Linked DNA regions of Homo sapiens: region 2 is linked to region 1. Evidence: promoter capture Hi-C in human tissues and cell types (Jung and others, 2019). All regions are on one chromosome and are shown on one strand. Each heading gives the region's core, a stretch centred on a gene start or on the middle of the fragment in contact. The rest is flanking DNA. Distances are from core to core; before and after follow the strand shown. Region 1 holds the start of RABEP1 (rabaptin, RAB GTPase binding effector protein 1). Region 2 overlaps DERL2 (derlin 2).

The links. Contacts are between HindIII fragments. The study calls those that stand out against the background at their distance.
Region 2: a fragment that was not itself captured here is called in contact with the fragment with the promoter of RABEP1 in region 1 in 1 of the 25 tissues and cell types used here (aorta).

The regions. Positions count from the first base shown.
Region 1 is chr17:5,279,542-5,286,077 of GRCh38, reverse strand. It overlaps RABEP1 (rabaptin, RAB GTPase binding effector protein 1), which reads right to left and starts at 3,794. Exons shown (of 18, transcript NM_004703.6): 1 at 3,558-3,794. The coding sequence starts at 3,591. RefSeq lists an enhancer at 989-1,507 and a silencer at 3,355-4,074. The HindIII fragment of the contact is 8,494 bases long and covers 1-6,536 here.
Region 2 is chr17:5,471,663-5,478,253 of GRCh38, reverse strand. DERL2 (derlin 2) reads left to right here. Exons shown (of 7, transcript NM_016041.5): 7 at 3,465-6,591. The coding sequence ends at 3,570. Among named protein-coding and RNA genes, the nearest start is that of DHX33-DT, 5.9 kb to the right of the region's middle. The HindIII fragment of the contact is 6,926 bases long and covers 676-6,591 here.

The sequences.
Region 1 (6,536 bases), core at 2,545-5,044:
CTAGCAACAGGTATTAAAATTTAAACCACTCGGAACTCATGCCCTTTATTTAATTCACTAGTCTTACAGAAGTAAAAGAGTACCTTAAAAAATATGCACAAGGACATCCATTACAACACTGCTTATAAAATAATTAAAATTTGAAAACAATCTACTTGCCCCACAATAGGGAAATAGGCCATAAATCATGCCTGGTACATGCATATGATAAGATCGTCTTTAAGAAGAATGAAGAAGGCCTACAACACTGACCTGGAAGTAGTCCATGATCTAGTACATAAGCCAGATGGCATGGATTTGAATCCTGCTCCCCCACTTAATAGCTGTATAACACAGGCACGTTTCTTTAACTTCTGTGTGCTTCAGTTTCCTCATCAAGAAAATAGAAGCAGTAATATTCAATAGTACCATTGCTATGAAGATTTCCTAAGATAATGCCTATAGTGTTTGCAGAACATTACATGGCCATATAACCATGAGTATATAATATGATAGCTAACATTTATTAAGTGAGATAGGGAAGTTGCAGACTTATGTATGTAAAGCATGTCCTTCAGGGGTAAAAGGTAGCATGTCTGTGTAACTAACAGGAAACAATCAGGAATCCAGCCTGGCCAACATGGCAAGAATAAAAAATAATGAAGTAGGCTGGGTGCAGTTGCTCATGCCTGTAATCCCAACACTGAGAGGCCAAGATGGGAGAATCACTTGAGCCCAGGGGTTCAAGACCAGACTGGGCAACACAATGAGACCCTCTCTACAAAAGAAAAAAAAAAAAAAGAAAAAAAGTGAAGTAAAACCAGAGCAAATGCTTCAAAGATATAGTTGAACTTAGATTAAAAGAAATACTAAAATTAGAAAATTTTCATTTTTAAATTCTCAAGGGAAAACAGATCAACTGAAATTTCTTTAACTATTAAAATTACCTGTATTCCAAATAAGTAAACTAAGATGCAGTATCAAAAACCCAAAACTTTTTTTAACTTACAAAATAATTACAATGAATAAAATGATTACATTTCATCCCTTCGATTTACACACAAATCGATTTTCCTAATCTACCATATGGCCATGAAAAACAGACAATATTTTTTTTTTTTTAAAAAGTCATCAAAGACAATCGCTTCTGAAACAGGATAAAACAAGATAAAGTCAAAGACTAAGCAGTTAGTTATCTTTCACCACCAGTTTGACACAAAAGAATTCTGGCGATTTTTTTTTTTTTTAATCAGCAGGACTAGGAAATTCAAACGTGCCTAAAGCTAAAATGGTCTACATGAGTTCAGCTAAAGACACAAATTAAATCCCCAAAAGCCGGACTCACGGGCTCACACCTACAATCCTAGCACTTTGGGAAGTGTAGGCAGGTGGATCCCTTGAGTTCAGGAGTTTGGGACCAGCCTAGGCAACATGGCAAAACGCCGTATCTACAAAAATACAAAAATTAGCTGGGAATAGTGGCATGCACCTGTAGTCACAGCTACTTGGGAGGCTGAGGTAGCAGGATTGCTTTGACCCCAGGAGGTCGAGGCTGCAGTGAGCCAAGATCGCGCCACTGCTCTCCAGCCTGGGCAACAGAGTGAGATACTGTCTCAAAGAAAAAAAAAAAAATTAAAATCCCCAAGATGAACTTCTAAGGCACTGACACAAGGCACTCAAACGTACCAAATTATCTCTCTCCTACTGTAAAAAGTAGCCATGGCTACCTACATTAATTTAAAATAAAAATTGCAATCTATGCAAACTAAATCTCATCCTAGAGTCACAAGATTTGAGAAATAGGAAAGAAACCTGAACTAAAATACCAAGAATACAAGATTTCCTAAAGCTAGTTTTCCCTAGCCTCGTTCAAGTGCTTAGTCACTTCTGCCTATTTACAAGGAAGACCATTTCATATCTTCAAAGAGGCAGGGAATTTTGATTCCAGACGGTCATGTCACCTGAGCTGCCCTAGACGTTTCTTTCCATGCAACTCAAGAGAAGGCAGCAGCCAGCTATGCATACCTACCACTCCTGTTCAGAACCACAAGCTCTCTGTATCTTGCCTCTGTGTGCAGTAACAAAGTGGGATTGTGGAAGAACAAAGTTTTCTTGCCTGACACCAAATGCAAAAGGTGATCATTAAAATGCAGCCTGAAGACATCCCAGTTTCCTCTCTCTGACAGCCCACCAAAAATGCTTCCCTTCCCTTCTCCTGGAACAGAAACAGCAAAGCAGGTTCTTATAAAAGTCTAAATGCTTACTGGACATCTCCCCTTAGGCAAGCAACAACACCCAAAACTACAGGCTAACAGGCTCTGAAGCACATTTCCCAGAGAGCAGCCAGAACCTTAAAATCTGATAACATGGTTTCAAGTTCCCCAAAGGCAAAAATAAAAAGTAAGGGTTTCACGAAAGGTTATTTTGAGACAACCCCAAGGAAAGCCAAGTTTTAAAGTACCTACTCCGTACCAAGCCCCTTTTCCCAACATTCTACTCTACTCACACTTAAAGATGCTAAGCACACACGCTGATTATAGAAATACACCAGAAAGTACTTTCACAACTAGATACAGTGGGACCTTGGAAAAGCCCAAGCACACTATTTCCAAACATCTATTCTAGGTGGTAAAACCTGGAACCATGTAGTCAATCTGTGAAGCACAGCTTAGTCCAATTTCCCAGAAGGTCACGAAGGGCTCTGACAACCAACTTTGATTATTTAGGATGGGGCCCTTTTTTCCTTCCAAGAATATAAATGACACATTTCTTCGACTTCACTTTTTTTTTTTTAGTTCCACAAGCAAATATCTTCAAGTAGTGCAAGTAGGCCTCAGCATTCTCAAACACTATTCTCATTATTCCTAATACCTCCATAATACTATTATTGTATATACACATTCGTGTTGCTATTTTTATAGATAAAATATAAAGGCATGAATTAACCTCTTGGTTAATTCGTGGGTGAGAATACTGAGGCTCAACGAGGCTAAGAAATGAGCCCAGAGCTTGCTGGTTAAGAATACAGGTCCTCTAGACTCCCAGGCCCCAACACTTAACCATTAAGCCACACTGCCATTCAGGGAATGCTACTAAATCCAGTTACTGTACACAACTACTTTCAGGTCACATAACTGGGTGCAAAGAGTTCTATAGCAAGGATTGGGGCGGCAGGGAGGGTACACTACCTAAGCTAAGATTTTTTTTCTTTAACGAATATAGCACATGTTCCCGATTTCCATCCTCCCCCACGGGCAGAACCCACGTGCCGGTCCCCCGCTACCCAGAACCGCTCCCTCCCCACACTACCCCACGCTACCCAGCAGCCTCCCCACGCCCTTCCCTCTGCCCTCCCGCAAGCGCTGCACCCGCGCCTCCCGCCCCCTCCCCAGCGACGGCAGCCGGGGCGCCCGCGCCGCCCTCGCGCGCCGCAGCCCGCGCGCCCCCGCCTCCGCCCGGCGGGGTCACCCCCGGGGCCTGCGCGCGCCCTTGCCGCCGCCTGCCCGCCCCGAAATCCTCCCGCGACGCCGACGCCGGGCAGGCCGCGCCCGCCGCGCCTGCCATGGTGGGCGCCTCACCGTCAGGCTGGGAAGCCGGGCCCGGCTGCGCCATGACCAGGCGGCCGGCCTCGGGGAGCGGGGATGGGCGGGGAAGCGGCGTCCTGGGCTCCCGCGGGCTCAGCTGGCGGAGGAGGCGTCAACCGAGCCGCCGCCGCCGCCGCCCAGAGAGAAACCGCTAAGGCTGGATCCGCCGGCGCCGCCACAGCCGCGGGCAGAGACGGACCCGACCGCCGACCTCCGCCTCCTCATCCTGACAGCGGGAAATAAGCAGTGCGCAGGCGCAGGGGGATGGGGCGGCACGTGACGTTGGCCCGAGGGGAGGGGCGGGGCCTCGGGAGCGCGGAGGGAGCGCGGAGGGAGCGCGGAGGGAGCGCGGAGGGAGCGCGGAGGGAGCGCGGAGGGAGCGCGGAGGGAGCGCGGAGGGAGCGCGGAGGGAGCGCGGCGGGAGGGGAGGGTTTCGGCGGAGCTGGGCGCCTGACCCAGCGGCGCGGGGAGGCTGAGTGCCGAGCGGAGCTGGAGAAGAGGGGCTGCAGCAGAGGCCTGGCCTCTCGAAGGTGCCGGTCCCGGTTCTCCACCCCAGCACAGTGAGGGGAAAAAAAAAAATGAGTAAGAGAGGAGGACCGATGGCGGGGTGCAGTTCCAGCCTCTACCTCTTCTAGCTTTGCGACCTTGGGAGAGTCACTTCACCTCTTGGAATTTTTATCAATATAATGGCTAAGAAAAGTTTAAACGAGGTAATAAAGTATGAAGAACTGTTTCCGACAGTACTGGGCCTGGACCCCAGGTCTTCTGGTGCAGAGGCCAGTATACTATCCATTCAGCAAATACGTTTGGGTTTTCAGTCGTGATAGATGCTGGAGATACAGCCAGGTACAGACCCTGCACTCATGGCAGGAAAGGAGAAATCATATACACAAAGTGTGGCCCTTATACTTGGGCCCCTGGGCCCTATACTTTAGGAACTCCCCTCTAATCACCACTCCCCGTCTGATTTCGACACCTGGAGTGCCCCATGCCAAGGAGGTAGTTTAAAAAGCTTTTTTTTTTTTTTTGGAGATAGAGTCTCACTCTGACACCCAGGCTGGAGTGCCATGGTGCGATCTCGGCTCACTGCAACCTCTGCCTCCCGGGTTCAAGCAATTCTCCTGCCTCAGCCTCCCGACTAGCTGGGACAACAGGCGCACGCCACCACACCCGGCTAATTTTTGTATTTTTAGTAGAGACGGGGTTTCACTATGTTGGTCAGGCTGGTCTCAAACCCTTGACCTCGTGATCCGCCTGCCTCAGCCTCCCAAAGTGCTGGGATTACAGGCGTGAGCCACCGCGCCCGGCCTAAAAAGCTATTTTGAAATCAGAGAGGAGCATCAGGAATTATGTACATTTTAAGACCCAGCAATCCCACCCCAGGATGAGGGAGTCCACAGGGTTTGGCACTTCAGGACCAAGTTCTGAATACTTGTGGCCCCAGAATTCCCTTTCCAGATGGCTGAAGCTGTGGTCTCTTTCCCAGATCCATTCTCTCTATGGCAGAGTCTAGACATCCCTAAAAGAAGCTAAAGTGAAAGCATAAAGAATGAGTTCATGTCCTTTGCAGGGACATGCATGAAGCTGGAAACCATCATTCTCAGCAAACTAACACAGGAAAAGAAAACCAAACACCTCATGTTCTCACTCATAAGTGGGAATTGAATAATGAGAACACATGGACACAGGGAGGGGAACATCACACACCGGGGCCTGTGGGGGGTGGGGGGAAGGGGAGGGAGAGCATTAGGACAAATACCTAATGCATGCGGGGCTTAAAACCTAGATGACGGGTTGATAGATGCAGCAAACCACCATGGCACATGTATACCTATGTAACAAACCTGCACGTTTAGCACATGTATCCAAGAATTTAAAGTATAATAAAAAAATAATAATAGGCCGGGCACAGTGGCTCACGCCTGTAATCCCAGCACTTTGGGAGACTGAGGCAGGTGGATCACGAGGTCAGGAGTTCAAGATCAGCCTCTCCAAGATGGTGAAACCCCATCTCTACTAAAAATACAAAAAATTAGTCGGGTGTGGTGGCAGGCGCCTGTACTCCCAGCTACTCGGGAGGCTGAGGCAGAGAATTGCTTGAACCCAGAAGGCGGAGGTTGCAGTGAGCCAAGATCGCACCACTGCCAGCCTGGGCGACAGATCGAGACTCCATCTCAAATAATAATAATAATAATCAGAAAATCCACTAATTAGAATCAGTTTCTACTTTCTTTAAATCATTTGTTTTAAATAAGGTATACTTTTATTAAAATGATTATTTCTCACTGAAAAAAAGGGAGGCTAAAGGGCAGCTTTGTTTTATTTTAAGGGGGTGACACGACACTTGGGTGTTTGAGCTCCTATGTCCACAGATCCCTCATGGTGCAGGACAGAGGTGAGAAAAGAAGGCAAGTGAGCCAAGAGACAATAGTTGGGCCAGGGCCTGTGCTGCTTTCGCCACCTCATTCATGGGCATAACTCCCAGGAGCCCAGGAATTCTAAATTTAAACCTGGTCTTCCAGGTCTTAAACAGGTAGATTTGTCCAAGTAGAAGGATAGACTGTATTAAGGTTAGCGGTTAATTGGAGTAGTTTGTAATTTTATTTTATTTTATTATTTATTTAATTTTTGGAGACGGAGTCTCTCACTCTATTGCCCAGGCTGGAGGGCAGTGGCACCATCTCAGCTCACTGCAACCTCCACCTCCCGGATTCCAGTGATTCTCCTGCCTCAGCCTCCTGAGTAGCTAGGATTATAGGCGTGTGTCACCACGCCCAGTTAACTCTTGTAATTTTAGTAGAGACAGGGTTTCACCATGTTAGCCCGGCTGGTCTTGAACTCCTGACCTCAAGTGATCTACCCACCTCGGCCTCCCAAAGTGCTGGGATTACAGGTGTGAGCCACCACGTCCAAACTGGTTTGTAATTTTAAATAATTTAGGTATCTATTTGTACTTTTGCCCCAGGTCCTGCC
Region 2 (6,591 bases), core at 2,889-5,388, 190 kb before region 1:
ACAGGTGCACACCACCAAGCTCTGCTTATTTTCTTTCTTAAATGTTTTTTTTTGTGGAGACAAGGTCTCTCTATGTTGCCCAGGCTAGTCTCGAACTCCAGTCCTCAGGTGATCCTCTTGTCTCTTGGCCTCCCAAAGCACTGAGATTACAGGTGTGAGCCACTACACCCCACTTTTTATTTTTTTATTTTTTTGCAATTGTTTTCTGGCACAACAAGATATACCAGGCTCATCCTGTGCTCTCCTTGATCCAGTCCTAGAATCAGCTGTTTCTTCAAGGAGCCCTGGTTCCTTTAAAGTGGAGAATGGTATTTAGAAGCCAAGATCTGGGTGCTAGATGTGCTCATTGCTATTGGAGTGTTGCTATTCCCAGATCCTCTCAGTGAACAGAGCAATGGAATTATATGTATGTATGTATGATAATGTATACATGTGTATATTTTTAGATCTATGTATTTTTTAAAACATGGGTTTATACTATACTCCCATTTCTAGTACTACCTCATGGTTCATTCTAGCTTTTTTCCTATTGGTTTCCTCCAATATTTTATTATGAAAATTAACAAACTTATAGGAAATCAGAAAAAAATTGGAGTGAGCTTCATGTAGCCACCACATAGATTCTGTAATTAATAGTTCCCTATTCTTATTGCACACCTATCCCTACATCTAGCTTTCCAATCCAAAATGTATGTGCCATTATATGTATACTTAATTCCTTGTATACTTGAGTGTGCATATCAGTAACTAGAGTTTAGTATTTATGTGCAACAAAATACACAAATCTTGAGTGTGTCAACTGAGTTTTTATAAATGCACACATCTGTGTATCTATCAAGACAGAAAATTACCATCAACCAGAAAGTTCCCTGATGTCCTTCCCTGTCAATCATTGTACCTGTCCCCCAAGAAGCAATTGCTATTCTGGTTTTGTTCCTCTGTAGATTAGTTTTTCATGTTCTACAACTTCATGAGTAGAATTGTACAGTATGCATGTACTCTTTGGTATAAGGCTTCTTTCATTCAACATAATGTTTTTGAGACTCATCTGTGTTCTTGTATTTATTGGTAATTTGTTCCTTTTTATTGCTGAATATTATTTGGTTGTATGAATGTACCACTCCTTTCCATCTGCCCTTTCCATCTGTCCTAACCTGATTCTTATTATGATTAATGTTTTACCTACCTAATTACCCCTCATATGTAACCAGTCTTTCGGGATAGTCTCCACCTCTCCCATATGGATGCCTTGCTTATCTCACTCACCCTCAGATTCCCCAGACCAGGCTGCCCTCTTACAGGGATGCCTCCCCATCCTACTCGGGCTAACATCTCGTCAGGCCACCTCCATGTGTGCATGGTCTGATGGGGCTCTTGACTCCCTATACCAGGCTGTGCCCCCACCCCCATCCTGCTAATGTTTGGGCAGTAGAAGGGATCTCAGTTTTGTTTTTGTTGTCGTTGCTGTTTTTTGAAACGGATTCTTGCTCTGTCACCCAGGCTTGAGTGCAGTGGCTCAATCTCGGCTCACTGCAACCTCCGCCTCCTGGGTTCAAGCGATTCTCCTGCGTCAGCCTCCCTAGTAGCTGGGATCATAGGCATGCGCCACCACACCCGGCTAATTTTGTATTTTTAGTAGAGATAGGGTTTTGCCATGTTGGTCAGGCTGGTCTTGAACTCCTGACCTCAGGTGATCCACCCTCCTCGGCCTCCCAAAGTGCTGGGATTACAGGCATGAGCCACCACACCTGCCGGGATCTCAGTTTCTAATATACTTTCCTTTGATTATTGTGAGAGCAAACATTCTCACGTTTATTGACCACATGGATTTCCTTTTTGAATTGCATATTCAGCCCTTTGCCCATTTTTTCTGTTGGTATGTTTGTTTTTATTGTTAATTTGTAAGAATTTTAAAAACTCATTTTGAATTATACTATTTTCTGACTCCAGTATAAATCAGAAGTTTTCAGATACATTTCTAATTTTATCAACTGTGGAGGATTACAAGTAGAAATATAAGTGCAAATTGAGGATGCTGCTTTAATGGTTCCTTCTTTAGTGAGGTTTTGAATTACTACATCATAGTACTTAGGGAGTCTTTTGGACATTTACTATCCCCTCCTATGTTCTGCAGTAATTTTTCTTGGGATACCTTGTTAATTTTTTAAAAATTTTGTGGTAAAATAATACCTAACATAAAATTCACCATCTTAACTCATTTTAAATGTTCAGTGGCATTAAGTATATTCATACTGTTTTGCTGCCATCACCACCATCCATAGAACTCTCTTCATCCTACAGAACTACAACTCTGTACTCATTAAACAACTCCCCACCCCAGCCATCACCATTCTATTTTCTTTCTCTGAATTTGACTACTCTGTACCTAAGTGGAATCATACAATATTTGTCCTTTTTTGTCTGGCTTATTTCTTATTTCATTTAGCGTAAAGTCCTCAAGGTTCATCCATGTTGTACCATGTGCCTGAATTTCCTTCCTTTTTTTTGAGACAGTCTTGCTCTGTCGCCCAGGCTGGAGTGCAATGGAGCAGTCTCAGCTCACTGTAACCTGTGCCTCCCAGGTTCAAGTGATTCTTCTGCCTCAGCCGCCTGAGTAGTAGCTGGGATTACAGGCATGCGCCACCACGCCAGGCTAATTTTTGTATTTTTGGTGGAGACAGGGTTTCACCATGTTGACTAGGTGCAGTGGCTCATGCCTGTAATCCCAGCATTTTGGGAAGCCGAGGCAGGCAGATCACCTGAGTTCAGGAGTTCGAGACCAGTCTGGCCAACATGATGAAAACCTTCCCTCCTAAAAATACAAAAATCAGCCGGGCGTGGTGGCGGGCGCCTGTAATCCCAGCTACTCGGGAGGCTGAGGCAGGAGAATTGCTTGAATCCGGGAGGCGGAGGTTGCAGTGAGCCGAGATCGCACCATGGCACTCCAGCCTGGGCGACAGAGTGAGACTCCCGTCTCAAAAAAAAAAAAAAAAAATTCTATTATATGTGTGTACCGTATTTTGTTTATTCACCTGTTGATGCACACTTGGGTGATACCTTGGTTATGGGGAAACATTAATGATAAATATGTGAAAGTCAGGTTACAAAACATGTAGTGTGATCTAACTTTTGTAAAATGACATAATGTAAAAATTCCCAAAGAATAACTAAAACATTGACAATAGTTACCTCTGGAAATTGAGGATATTTTGCTCATCTCTATTTCCTCCTTCTCTGTAATTATTATGATTTGGATTGCTTTTGTAGTAAAAATCAGTAAAAGATAAAAGCTAATGTAAATGTTAATAATTATAGATGCTCTTACAATATGTTAACTGTTTAATTGGCAGGCAGGTGTAATGCTTACCTATTGGTGGAAACCCTATGGGGCCTGAACTGACCTTGTAGTACTTTGGACCTGAGATGACTCTGGGACCAAATTATATCTGTTGCTTGTCTTTTAGGAAAGCTATTTTTGATACACCAGATGAGGATCCAAATTACAATCCACTACCTGAGGAACGGCCAGGAGGCTTCGCCTGGGGTGAGGGCCAGCGGCTTGGAGGTTAAAGCAGCAGTGCCAATAATGAGACCCAGCTGGGAAGGACTCGGTGATACCCACTGGGATCTTTTATCCTTTGTTGCAAAAGTGTGGACACTTTTGACAGCTTGGCAGATTTTAACTCCAGAAGCACTTTATGAAATGGTACACTGACTAATCCAGAAGACATTTCCAACAGTTTGCCAGTGGTTCCTCACTACACTGGTACTGAAAGTGTAATTTCTTAGAGCCAAAAAACTGGAGAAACAAATATCCTGCCACCTCTAACAAGTACATGAGTACTTGATTTTTATGGTATAAGGCAGAGCCTTTTCTTCCTCTTCTTGATAGATGAGGCCATGGTGTAAATGGAAGTTTCAGAGAGGACAAAATAAAACGGAATTCCATTTTTCTCTCACTGTATTAAAGCTTTTGTGTGTGATCTTTTAAATTCTGATAATGTATTGTAGCCCTCCTGCGTAGATCTGAGCTCAGAACAGTTTACACAGCTGTTCTTCCTGTGTCTTCACAACTTTTAACTGGATTTCATTTCAGGATTGGAAATACGTGGCTGTCATGCTGTGGTTGTGTACATCTTACTAACTCAGAATGCAAGATTCAGCAGGAAGATGATTTATTTCTGTCATCTGGATAGGTTGTTTTGCATCTGGGTTTTGCCAAACTTTGTCAGACAACATGAAAAAAAAGGAGGGAGGATGGTTCTTGTAGCAGTAGGAATTCAGCTATAGGAAAGTCAGCTGTAAGCTAATGTGGCATCTTATTTGCTTTACTTACATTTCTCCATTAAGAAGTATCCAGGGAAAGATTGGTAAGGGCCACATTTTTGTAAAACTAGGAAGATTTTCATTAGACTTTTTTTTTCTTTTATTTTTAAAAAAGTTTTAATTAAAAATTTTTTTTTAAATACAGATGGGGTCTCACTGTGTTGCCCAGGCTGGTCTTGAACTCCTGGACTCAAGCAATCCTCCCACCTCAGCCTCCCAAAGTGCTAGGATGACAGGCATGAGCCACCATGCCCAGCCATTTTTTTTTTTTTTGCCTTTTTTGTTTTGTTTTGTTTTTTGTTTTTTTAATTAAAAAAAAAAAATAGAGACAGGGTCTCAGATTTTCATTAGATTTGGAAACCAAGTTAGAATGTTGACTTTGGAGCCAGACGAACAGATACCAGTTAGCTAGGCATATGTTCTTCCAGGGTCTTTGGCTAGTTAACATTAGTCATTTGCTTCGTGAAAATTCAAGAACCTTTTCAGAGCCAAGTACCTGGATTACCTTCCCAATCAGGTAGAAATTAGACAGGGTCCACAGAAGTAGACACTTAATGCTGTGGTTCAATAAATACTTCCCCTAAATATTAAGTCTTCCCTGAGTCTCAGCAGGTTTGCATTCACACTGCTTAAGTAACTTCCAGAACCTGGAAGAGTCGAAAGAGCACCCCTAGGAAAGAGATGATTCCAAACAGCTTTCATTAACGGCATGTAGGCACAGGTCCCTTTCCCAAAAGTGGATTGTTAGTAGTAGTTCATTCAACCTTTGTTAAGGGGTAGCTTTCCAGAATGTGACATTGTCCTCAGAAAGATAGACATAGGCTTAAACATAATGGACATCCTAAATAGGAATTTTCAGATTGTTTTTGAAGTGAAAAGTGTTTTAATGTCTTTAAATGGAATTGCATAACTAATGGTATTTAAGTATTTTACATGTTGCTAATAACTTTGAATATGATTGTTGCAATTTTATGGAACCTGGGTCTATGGGACTGCTTTTTAAGCAGTTTAAAAAAGGTTTTCAAAGTTTAAAAGCCAATCTTAGCATGTATAATCCTTATGGGATTCTTAAGTTTTATCCTATCTTGTTTTTGCTCAAGAACGCTTTATCAGTGACGTTTGTTAGAATTTTGTTTTTTGTTTTTTTTTTTTAAATTGTTTTTGGGCTAGAAATGAGTTTCTCTAGTTTTATTTGTTCTCCCTGAGTTGGAGTTATGCAATGAATGGCATTTTTGTGGTAAAATACTAATCCTAAAATCTGTTAACTCACTGTTCATTTAAGTAGGGAATATCTGTATACATTAATGACTAGGTAAAACAGGAAATACATTTTGAATATACAGCCTAAAGGCAGGCAGTTACAGGGTTTTTGATTTCTCCGATTTTATAGGGTGCAAGTTCCCAGTGGCAGGATGCCCTGCTGTGTGACTGACTACACTGTGTCCTGAGCAGTGGTAATTTCAATCACCTCTCATCAGTTTGGCCAGCCCTACAACCACCATTCCTAGCCCTGTGTTGCTTGACAGGATACCTGTGCTTGAATGGACATAAGGAAAAGTCCTTACTTTCTCCCCAATTTACCTCTCAATCTTAGTTCTTCCAGAACACACTTCCCTTTCACAATGCAAATAAACTGAAAGTGAGATTTGATACATGGAATTTTGAGACCAACCAACTAACCTTACACATAATTTGAGGGATTCCTGGATTCTTCTAGTGATACTGAAAAGCACACTTGACTAAAGCATAGTGTTTTTTGTTTGTTATGGAAATACGGTATACGTTCATTTAAAAATAAATGGACATACAAATTGCATCTCCTTAGGAGATACATTTTATATACATTTCGGTGCGTTTTTTTCCAGTATGGATTTCTATTTGTTTCTCTCTTCCTCTTGTTTTTTCTGTGTCACTCTTGTATGTCCTCATATCTTTCATACCTCTTGTGTAGTCTCTAGAAGCAGAACACCTAAGTCCTGGGTCTGGATAATGAAACCCTCAGTCTCTGGGGCCTCTGAAAATAAGGAAGCATTGGAGCTATTGCCATGTTGAGTAATGGGCTTCCTAGAACTATTGTCATCTATCCTGCCAGTGTTTTATGTTGTAGCTGTTTTTCTTTGACAGGTGAGTTCCAGCTATGTTGTTAGTCATGATCCTGCCATTATTTTCTGTGTTCTGTAGGATGTCTCCAGGCTACTTAAACATATTTTATGAGTTTGCAATAAAATTGTTGAATCTTGTATGATCAAGTCACTCCTCTGCTCA